4 separate regions of the Homo sapiens genome follow, and regions 1, 2 and 3 are each linked to region 4. Evidence: promoter capture Hi-C in 16 types of primary human blood cells and fetal thymus (Javierre and others, 2016). All regions are on one chromosome and are shown on one strand. Each heading gives the region's core, a stretch centred on a gene start or on the middle of the fragment in contact. The rest is flanking DNA. Distances are from core to core; before and after follow the strand shown. Region 1 has its middle 160 kb from the start of LINC02523. Region 2 has its middle 140 kb from the start of LINC02523. Region 3 has its middle 6.0 kb from the start of TPD52L1. Region 4 holds the start of HDDC2 (HD domain containing 2).

Region 1 (2,700 bases), core at 73-2,572, 210 kb after region 4:
CATTATACCTCCATCAGAGACATCTAAACAATATGGATTACATATTATGTGTTAAATAAAATTTTCATATGTGAAACTTTTCTACAAGAACGTAAGAGTAAAAACAAAGAAAAATGTAAAGTTATTTGGCAGAACTTAATATAGACCTGCTCTGTCCAATACTGAAGTCATAGGCCACATGTAGCTATTTCAATGACTGAATATTCAATCAAATTAAAAATTCAGTTGATTTTATTTTGGAAATAATTTAAAGCTAATATAGTTGTTGAAAAAAATAGCACAGGGAGTTTCATGTACCCTTCATCCAGTTTCCCCCAATAATAACATCTTACATAACCATAGAGCAATGATCTAAGCTAGAAAATTGAAGTCAGTACAATACTATTAACTAAACTACAGACTTTATTTGGATTTTACCAGTTTTAATGTGTACTTTCTTTGGTGTTTAGTTCTATGACATTTTATCACATATGCAGATTTCTGTAACAATAATTGTAATCAAGATACAGAACTGTTTATCACCCATTTATAATTATGCCTTCCCCCAAACTCTAAACTTGGCAAGCACTGATCTGTTGTGCATAAGTATAATTTAGTCCTTTCGAGAATGTTATATAAATGGAACTATACATTATATAATATTTAAAGATTTTTTTTGTCATGCAGCATAATACCCATCAAGTTGTTGCATATATCAACAGCTTATTTCTTTTCATCACTGAGTAGTATTCCATTGTACAGATGTACCATAATTTGTTTATACATCCACCTGTGGAAAGATATTTGTTTCTAGTTTCTTACTCTTACAAATAAAGCTTCTATGAACATTTGTGTTCAGATTTTGTGCAGATCTTCTGTCTAGTAATTTATTAATTACTGAGAGAAGCCCCCAGATATAAGTGAGGGTTTTCCTATTTCTCCTTTCAGTTATGTCCCTTTTTGCTTCATGTATTTTGAAATTCTGTTGCTTGGTGCATGCATGTTTAGGGCTGGTATGTGTTCTTTGGTTAATTAACTCTTTTTATCATTTTGTAGTGTCTCTCTTTGTCCTTGATAATTTTCTTTGCTGTGAAGTCTACTTTGTCTGATATTAATATGGACATACCAAATTTCTTTTGATTAATGTTTGTACAATTTTCCTGTACTTTTAAATTACCTATAACATACCTAGAGTTGAAGTAAGCCTCTTGTAGGCAGCATGAAGTTGGATTTTAAAATCCATTTTGTCAATCTTTGTCTTTTAATTAGTATGTGTAGACCACTTACTTTAAAAGTAACTGAGGCCGGGCACAGTGGCTCACACCTGTAATCCCAGCACTTTAGGAGGCTGAAGCGGGTGGATCACCTGAGGTCAGGAATTTGAGACCAGCCTGGCCAACATGGTGAAACCCTGTCTCTACAAAAAATACAAAAATTAGCTGGGCATGGTGGCAGGCACCTGTAATCCCAGCTACTCGGGAGGCTGAGGCAAGAGAATCGCTTGAACCCGGGAGGTGGAGGTTGCAGTGAGCTGAGATCATGCCATTGAACTCCAGCCTGGGGGACAAGAGGAAGACTTTGTCTCAAAAAAAAAAAAAAAAAAAAAAAGAAGTACTTGTTAGTTTTTTAGAATTCAGGTATGCTGTTTTATTATTTGTTTTCTGTTTGTTTCCACTGCTTTTTGTTTCTCTGTCTTCTTTTTTGGACCTTCCTGTGAGTTATATAAACTTTTTTAGAATTCAATTTTAATTTCTCTATAATGATTTTATTTCTCACTTCATGTAGTTTAAAATATTCATACTTATTACTGTCTATTATTATCAATATTTTACCATTCCAAGTAGAATGCAAAAGCTTTATCATCATTTAAATCTCTTTACTTGCCTTCATCTAAAAATCAATAATGGTCAATTATATTTCTTTATGTATTACTTTTTCTATTTTTTTATTTCTGATGTTCCAAGTTTTTTCTATATTATTTTCTTTATGTCTGAAGAATTTTCTTTGACACATTCTCTTAGTTTTCTTCATCTAAAAATGTCTCTATTTCCTAGTACCTCCTTGTTCACTTCAGTACACCAATCTCCACACTGACCCCTGGGATACTTCTTTATTTCTCAGACCTCTAGTTTCATTCCCTGCTTAAAGTTTTCCCAAACTAGAGAGAAATTTTTGTTAGATATAGAATTCTGACTTGACAACTGTTTTTGTAAAGAAAAATTACTTGAAAAATGTTGTGCCACTTTCTTCTGGCTTCTGTAATTTCTGAGGAGAAACCCACAGTGATTCAAATCATTGATCTCCTAAAACTGATGTATTATTTTCTCTGGCTACTTTCAAGATTTTGTCTTTGCTTTTAGTTTTCAAAAATCTGATTATTATGTGTCATCTGGGTGTGGATTTATTTTGATTTATTATGCTTGAGTTTTGCTGAGTTTATTATCTATTGGTTTGTAGCTTTCACCAAATTTGGGTAGTTTTCAATCATTTTTTCTTTGACTATTTTTTCAGGCCCTCCCTTTTTTTTTGTCTGCTTGGTTGTTTACTTTTTAGATGTGGTATCACTATATTGCCCAGGCTTCTCTCGAAATCCTAGGCTCAAGAAATCCTTCCACCTCAGCTTCTCAAGTAGCTGAGTTTACAGGCATGCATCACAACATGTTTTTGTTTTTGTTTGCTTGTTTGTTTGTTTTGTTGTTAGACCCTCACTCTTTCCCATCT
Region 2 (2,700 bases), core at 26-2,525, 230 kb after region 4:
ACTGAGATGATATATTTCCATTCAGCAGCTTCTGCTGTTAGATAAAGAACTGAGACAAACCTCTTCCTAAAATGAATTTTTTTAAAAATAAAGAATTTGTTCTTTGAAGCTTCAACTATTTAGGCAAAAGGTACCTCATCTTTGTGTTCTAGTTATTTAAATGTTATGAATAAGTAGGAAGTATCATAATCATCTCTACTCCCCTGCCGCCAAATCCTGAACTTGTAGGTAGATGGTGTAAATATGTGTCATAATTTTTAAACCAAAACCACTAGGGTCATAGAGTGTTATTTTAAATCTGATCCTTAAAAACAAAGTTTTAACCCAAGGTACTTTAGGTAAGTAATGTACCTAAAGAAAGATAAGAACATACTGAGGATAAAACATATGCAATTTGCTCCCTGGGATTAGTTCCAGGTCTTGATGCATGGGTTTTATTCCTTCAACCCGAAAATATTGTCTTTTAGCTTGTTGTATTAGTGAAGGTAACAATATCCCATACACATCTCACATTTTCAGTATAAATCAAGACAGGTTTATTTTTCAAGTGCAATGGGTCCTTGTGCTGTTAAAAAATGATTGTATTTACCAGGATAGGAAAGAAAAAATAGCAAATATTTATTAAATACTCCTATGAGCCTGGAGCTGTGCTTAGAGCTTTACCTATATTACCTCATTTGAAGGAATAGTCAGGATTTGCTTTCTCTGAAGCCACTTCTGGGTACTAGAAAACTGAATCATCACCCACCTAGTTGTCCAGAGGCATTACATTTATATGGCACTTTAAACTTCTCTTGAGTACTTTCATATCTATAATCTCTTTAAAATCCTGTGTTGCAGTTAGGGCAGATATGATAAAACTAAGAAGATGGGTGAAATTGTCTAAGAATAACCAAACATGGAGTAGCAGAGCTAAAAATAGAAGCTAAACCCTACTGTCTTCTATTCTTATCTATAAAATGAGGAATATTTATAACTTGTTTTCAAGTTTCCTTCTAGTTTCCAAAGCCACGCCCTACAAGTCTTTGCCCAAGACTAAGAGATAATCAGCTATACTACCTTCCAGAACATTTAGAAAATGGTTTACTATCAATTCTAGGCTCCTTTCCTCTTCAAGCTTCTAAAGATGGGTTCTAACTTTAGAAATCTACTTTAATTCAACCAAACTGGGCATTGTTGTAAGTGCTCTGGGAATTTGAGAGATAAATGAGCTAAAGTCTCTAAGACTCCTAAATTTCCTTTGTAAGAATAAAGGAAAGAGACCATTTTAACTGGGGGAAATAGGGAAGTCATCAGTAAGTCCAGTTAATGTGAGTAGCATATTCAGGGCTGTTTTCAGTACACTGTATGAAAATAACTTTTTGCAGGGCTGAATTCTACAAGCAAGCTCCATAAGTTTGGGGAACTATAGCAGAGAAGAATATCCTAATGAGGAAGCTTTATTTATTTATTTGCTCTAATTATTCTTAGTGCCTGTCCAATGCTTAGCCTGGAGAGGAGAATCAATGTGTTATGTGCATTTCTTAAAAAATATATATTGAATAGGTAAATAAGAAACTATTTTAAAAAATCAATAGTGCTATCAATGTATTTAGTTACCCATTTAAAAACTATGTATTGAATGTAACTCTATATATAATCCTTGTCCACATGGAATTTCTAATTTAATGAGAGGGACATACATTAAACAACTAATCACACAATTAATTTATTACTCCAATGGCAGTTATTTCCCTTGACCCTAGGATCACTTCTCTCTGTCTCCCATCTGCTTTCAGGTCATCCAGTTGACCACTGTTCTTTGAGCTGAGGGTTCCTTCCTGCTCCACTGTGAGCCACGGGCCACATCATACCTGGCTGCTGTTGACCCAAGATACCCTGTAAAATTCTGCTTCCTCTTCAAGAGCCCATAGGGAGGATGGAGGAGTGTGAGGCAAGCCTTGTCTCCATCTGCAGCCCCATCTTTTACTCTCTCCATAACCTCACCACACAAAAAACGTCAAACTATGTGTTAAACATGACTTTTTCAAAGCTCCAGGGGAGATTTCCCATAAAGTGAAACCCTCTATAAGGGAGTAACTCTGTTCTTAACCACATCCTCCCTTCCTTTCACTCTGAGAGTACCATCTTTAAGTCTCCATCCACCTTTTGAAAAAGATGCTTTTGTAAATACTACATTTAAAAAACAGCAGTAGTCACACACACACACTGCATACAAAACATACGTTATTTTTATTGGTGGTTGCTTAATGGGGGAGGGCAGTAGAGATCAGAGGGCAGTTCAGCCACCACCCCTGCCCCAGGCCACCTCCAGAGCTAGTCTTAATCACTTCCACTGGGGTGGGCGTGGGGGGATCCACAGAGGAACATTAGAGATGGCAGGAATCTCCCGACAGTGGTCCTGCTCCTAATATGCTACCCCCAAACAGGAAGCGGGCTAGAAGAGTTTCTAATGACTCTACTGTAGGTAATTCCAGATGAGTCCCAATCCCAGGGCAGGAGCCACGCACTCCTCGGGTATATGCCGTGCGGTGTTGTTTGGGGAGGCAGAAAGGGGCAGGCAGCTTGCTCCTGACTCCCACGTGGAGGGGCGCAGGGAGGCCTTCCCAGAGACTCCAAACCCAGGGGTACAGTCGGTTCTTCGGTGCCTTCTTGGCTTCTCTGCTGCTTGAGACTTCAGGAGCCCCCAAGACTTGGTCA
Region 3 (2,700 bases), core at 86-2,585, 150 kb before region 4:
TGGACAGCCATGAGGAAATGTGATTGAACAGAAGGGGTATGATCTAATGGTCATAGGTTGAGAGGGGAAACCCAGTGATACGGTTTGGATCTGTGTTCCCACCAAACCTCATGTTGAAATGTAATACCCAGTGTTGGAGGTAGGGTGCAATGCGAGGTCCTTGGCTCACGGAAGCGGCTCCCTCATGAATGGATTAGCACCATCCCCTTTCTGATAAGTGAGTTCGCGGAAGATTTGGTCATTTAAAAGTGTGGGGCACCTCCTACTCTCTCTCTCTTGCCCCTCTCTTGCCATGTGATATGCCGACTCCTGCTTCACCTTCTACTGTGAGTAAAAGCTCCCTGTGACCTCCTCGGAAGCCAAGCAGATGCTGAAGACATGCTTCCTGTACAGTCTGCAGGACTGAGAGTCAATTAAACTTCTTTTTAAAATAAACTACCCAGTCCCAAGTATTTAAAGCAATGCAAGAACATCCTAACACACCAAGCAAGGCTTGGCTGTTGGATGCTTCTTGGCCTCTTGGTGTGGTGCTCCTCCCTCCAGGGTGTGGGGCAGAACCACTCTAGAATGAGGGTCTTGTGACCTACTATCAGTCAAGGTAGGCCAAATAATTTATGGCCAGCTCCTACACAGAAAGGTGGGGCAAGGTTAGAGGAATGTATTTGAATGCTTTGAAGTGAAGGAAAGGGACCTAGTATTTGGCATGCCAATGTGCCATACTTTGGTGTATAGTGTTCTGAGCCTCAACAATCTCTTTTCCTTTCTTCTCTCAGCACTGCTTGGAACATGTGTGTGTGTGTGTGTGTGTGTGTGTGTGTGTGTGTGTGTGTGTTGGAAGGTTATGATGCAAAAGTTAGTTTTTGGGTGTCTATGGACCCTGTCACTTCTGGGAACCAGCTCCTCTTGACTAAGTGTGTGGGATGGGAATTGAGAGGAAGGGGAAAAGAAAACCCAAATGACCCCATATCCAGATGGATGAGGTTGACAGTGTGTTCACTCACCAGCAGCTCCTGCAGGCCCTGGTGGAACCTAGCCAGGCCTTGTGCTGCACCTCTCTGATGTCCACTTCACCTCTAGCTTTCGGCTTCAGTGGTCCTAGCTAGTATTCAGCCAACTAATCTCCCCTGGCCTCCTCCAAAGCCAACTCTCTGGTGGGTAGACTCCAATTTCCATGTTTCCTGAGAACTGGGAAGTTGGTAGAGGTGGAAAAAAGGTGGTGCTGGTCCCCTTTCTGAGCAATCAAACTATCTCTCCTCATTCCTTTTGCCCAGCTTAGTAGTATGATGTGGGGTGAGGTCAGTAAGTCCTCCAGCTAGGCTGAGTTCTGAATGCCTCTCCCTTTGTGCAGCCCCTCCTACCCTCATGAAAGATTCTGTTGCACCCTTTTCTTCATGTGGCTTCAGGAAATGGAAGCTGCCTTTCTCCAGCCTCCTGGGGATATTGGCTTACTAGCTAGTTCTCTCTCCTCACTAACTTCCACCCCCTACCTGGGGCTTCAAGGAAACTCCTCTCTGGCTTCCTACACCACTTGAGAGGGTGAAAAATTCAAAGTGACAAAGAGCACTTGTTCTATCCCTAAGGTTTCTCAAAACTATCTGGCCATCAGAGTTCTCAATGCAATTGTCGAGGCCAGGTTCTCTTTGCTCTCATGGGAGTAAGGAGAAGAAGGGTGAAATCTGTAGACAGAGCCATGTCTAAATCTTTCATACTTCTCTGCCCTCCCCAATGTTTTTTTCCTCTCCAACTCCCCTGGAATTAGGGGTAAAAATTCTTGTGCTGCCTGCTCATATTTCTTTTTCATTATTTTCTGTTTACTTGGGTGACAACGTTTTAATTTAAAAGCTGAGACTATAGAACCTTTCATCTTTGTTGTGGACAGTTTCTGAAATGGTCATTGTCAATCTTGGAAGCACATCAGTATCACCGAGAGAGATTTAAAAAGACAAATCAGAATACTTGTGGGGTAGAACCCAGGTATCAGAAATGTTTAAAAGCCACTCATGTGGTGCTGATGTAGAAGATGACTGGGAACCACTGCTTTAAAAGCACAGGTGCCCAGTGGGATAGGAGGGAAAGAACATGCCCATTAATACCTCATATAGCATCGTGACACAAATGCAGAAAGCCAGGCACAGAGAGACTGAGACAATTCCTTTAGGTGATACAGCTGGTAGTTTTCAGAGTGGGAATCTAATGGAGCCCCAAAGCTCATGTTCTCTTTCAATGTATTTGTAAAGTTCATAGGCCAGAGCAGCACACTTCACCTGTCCTTTCTACTCCTTCCTCTCATTTCTGTGCCCTGTCCACCTCCCACGATGCCTTCAGACCCATACATTACAAGTGACCGGGAACTGGTGTAAGTAAAAACTGTTGAATACACATTTCCTTTGGACAGTTGAGATTTCTACTGCATTTCACCCCTATAGAATGATCAACTTTCTAAACAAACTTCGTTCTTATATGAGTTATAGTGCTATCGGTAGAGACCTGAGTTGATATTTCTTACTCCTTGTCATGCTTTCTAATCGCATGACCAGGCAAGCCTTGGGACAGGACTGTGAGTTTCTAGTCTTGTCTGAAAACATGACTGTCTCATGTTAATGTTAATGTCAACACCAATGTTAATGTTAAAGCAACAAAATACATTAAGTAAGGTATTTTTAAACAGAATTTCATTGATTCAATCAAACACTTGCACAG
Region 4 (2,700 bases), core at 68-2,567:
GTGGGACTCTCTGATAAATATGAAGAAGAAAAAGAAGTTTTAAAGAACAAATATTAACTATCTGCTATGCTCTTCAAGAGATGTCCAGGATATAACACACAGAAGCCGGGTCATAATTTCAGAACCTATTACAAAATGTTTTGCTAAACTAGCTAAAATGATAGACATCTGGAATCAAATGAACTAGAGAGCTCAGAGAATGAAAGGGGTAGAAGACAGAGAGAGATAAGTCACAAAGTCCATTCGTCAAATTATTCTGTTACTGATGTATAATTATGGAACATATGCAAGTCCTTTAAACAAAAACAAAACTGCATTTTTCCGAACAAGAGTTGCGGCTTTTTGCCTTCAAATAATCCTACACAAGCAGAAAACACTGTATTGAAGGGTCTGAACGTGAACGAGTGATAGGCTTCCAAATTCTGAGGCACAAGGGATAAGGGCACTTCTAATTGCTTGATGCTACCAGCCGTGACTCTTCCTTTTATTCACATCATAACTTCATCTTGTGAAACTGCATTTCTTCCTCAGAATTCTACATCTCTAAGGAATGTTATAAATAGTAGTCAGAGTGGCATGAAACGGATAATTTACTTTGAACTTGGGAGAGAGACGGGGAAGACGCACATGATGAAACTCGTGTGTATTACATTAAATCCCGTTTGGGGGGTGGCCGGGAGAAAAGTCTTGTTTCTGGAAGTAACTGTGAGACAGACATAAAAAGCTCCACTTAAAATCTGAGGAGCCGACAGATTCTGTTCTTCCCACCCGTGCTCAGAAGCAGCCGCGCTTTACACACACACACACACACACACGAGTTCTGGGGTCGTGAGCACACACACACACACACACACACACGAGTTCTGGGGTCGTGAGCCCCGGAAAAGCTCAGTGCAGGCAGGGCCAGGCCGGCTGCTCTCCGGGAACTGGCGCGGCTGCAGTGCGGACCTCGCGGCGCCAGGCTCTAGGCTCAGACTCCGGGCCGCCCCAGCTGGCCAGCCTGTCCCGCCGGCTGCTTCCTCCGTCCACCGTCGGCAACGCGCGGCCGCATCCGCAGGACTGGGGCCTTTCCGGAATTCGGCGTGGCGGACGCGGCGCAGGAAGGGCAAAGACCGCCGGCCGAGCGGGGAGGCCGGAAGCTCCGCCGCCCCACAGTCCCGCCCGCTCGGCCGCGGCCTCCCGGCCTGGTGCCCGCTCACCTTGAGCTGCCCTACCAGCCGCAGGAACTGCAGTAGGGACCGAGCCCCGTGGCCCGAGAAGGTCGCAGAGGAGACCGAAGCCATGCGGCCACCGACCCCGGCTGGGCGGAGCAGGCCGCGGCGAAGCTCCTCCCCGTCCTCCTCCTCCTCCCCTTCCCCTTGTCTTTCTTCCCCCTCCTCTTACTCTTCTATCTCTTTCTCCTCCCCCTCTTCTTCTTCCTTCTGCCCCTCTTCCTGCTCCCCCTCTTCCTCCTCCCCTTCCAACTCCTCCTCCTCCTCCCCCACTTCCGCTTTCTCCTCTTCCTCTTCCTCCTGCCCCTCTTCCTCTCTCCCCCTCCTCTTCCTCCTCCTCCTGTTCTTATTCCTCCTCCCCCTCCTCCTCCTGTTCTTATTCCTCCTCCCCCTCCTCCATATTCTCACGGTTTTCTCAGGACCTTCTGTCCAGCCTTCGCCTTCTTGGCCTTGGTGTCCGCTGCTTGGGCATTGCTCCGTCAGTGGCAGACACCTTGCTTGGCACATACTTGACACTCAGTACTCTTTATGAAAAATAAAGCTCTCCTTTCTAAATTTATGAACCTCGTTATTCTTCAGTTGACAGTGTAAAACCATGAAACTGGATGAGGTCACCTGGCAAGAGGGTGTGAATGAAGAAGAAAAGACACCCAAGACCTGAACCCCAACATTTAGGCTTTGTGAGATCAAGAGGGAACAGCCAGTGAGGTAGGAAGAGGATTAGTAGGTAGGATAGTTGTGTCCTGGAAGCCATGTACAAAAATATTTCAAGAAGGAAGGAATATGGTCAACCAAGTCAATGTGAGGACCAAGGTTTGACTTCCAGACTTAGTAAATTCAATATTATTGGTTACCCTGACAAAAGCAGTTTTCAGTGTAGTGGGCCAAGCAGAACCTAGTGAGATAATTCCGAAGAGAATAGGAGCAAGTATTACAGCACATTGGAGATGGGGTTGGGGTGCTGTTAACTAGTGGAGAGATTGTTTCAAAACAGGAGATATTATGTATGTTTACTGATGAAGGGGATCTAGTAGAAAGGGAAACATTGATTATGTAAGAGACAAAGAAGAGAAATATTTGAATGTCGGCCTTGAGTAAGGAAAAATATTCCCATCTGGTGTACAAGATAAAAGATGGGCTTTAGATAGGAATATGGAGAATTCATTCAAATATTGGAGGAGGACAGAGTATAGGGTGACTAATCAGTCGCACATGTGGTCATGGGAGGTTGTAGAAGTTCTCTTCTGATTGCTTCTATTTTCTCACCAAATTAGGAAGCAAAGTATAGGCTGGGATGTTATAATAACAAACAACCTCCTTATTTCCTGTATCTCAGCAGTTTAACACATCAAAGGTTTATTTCTCTCTCATGCTAAGTGTCTATTGTAGATCAGCTAGAGGATGCTGCTTGCTCTAACCTTACTCAGGGAGCTAGGAGGCTTTCTTTGCTCTCTTTTGCCAAAATTGGAAAAAAGAAAAGTGGCACTCT

The links. Contacts are between HindIII fragments. The CHiCAGO score rates a contact against its expected background, and 5 or more counts as called.
Region 1: a fragment that was not itself captured here is called in contact with the fragment with the promoter of HDDC2 in region 4 in 1 of 17 cell types (erythroblasts); the score reaches 5.1 in erythroblasts.
Region 2: a fragment that was not itself captured here is called in contact with the fragment with the promoter of HDDC2 in region 4 in 1 of 17 cell types (megakaryocytes); the score reaches 5.1 in megakaryocytes.
Region 3: a contact is called between a fragment that was not itself captured here and the fragment with the promoter of HDDC2 in region 4, in 2 of 17 cell types (M1 macrophages and M2 macrophages). The highest score is 5.3, in M1 macrophages.

Annotation. Positions count from the first base shown.
Region 1 is chr6:125,513,860-125,516,559 of GRCh38, forward strand. No RefSeq gene overlaps it. Among named protein-coding and RNA genes, the nearest start is that of LINC02523, 160 kb to the right of the region's middle. The HindIII fragment of the contact is 1,018 bases long and covers 814-1,831 here.
Region 2 is chr6:125,531,250-125,533,949 of GRCh38, forward strand. No RefSeq gene overlaps it. Among named protein-coding and RNA genes, the nearest start is that of LINC02523, 140 kb to the right of the region's middle. RefSeq lists an enhancer at 2,262-2,700. The HindIII fragment of the contact is 320 bases long and covers 1,116-1,435 here.
Region 3 is chr6:125,146,389-125,149,088 of GRCh38, forward strand. No RefSeq gene overlaps it. Among named protein-coding and RNA genes, the nearest start is that of TPD52L1, 6.0 kb to the right of the region's middle. The HindIII fragment of the contact is 2,850 bases long and covers 1-2,700 here.
Region 4 is chr6:125,300,650-125,303,349 of GRCh38, forward strand. HDDC2 (HD domain containing 2) reads right to left here and starts at 1,318. Exons shown (of 6, transcript NM_016063.3): 1 at 1,200-1,318; 2 at 1-10. The coding sequence starts at 1,283. RefSeq lists a silencer at 1,008-1,347. The HindIII fragment of the contact is 13,888 bases long and covers 1-2,700 here.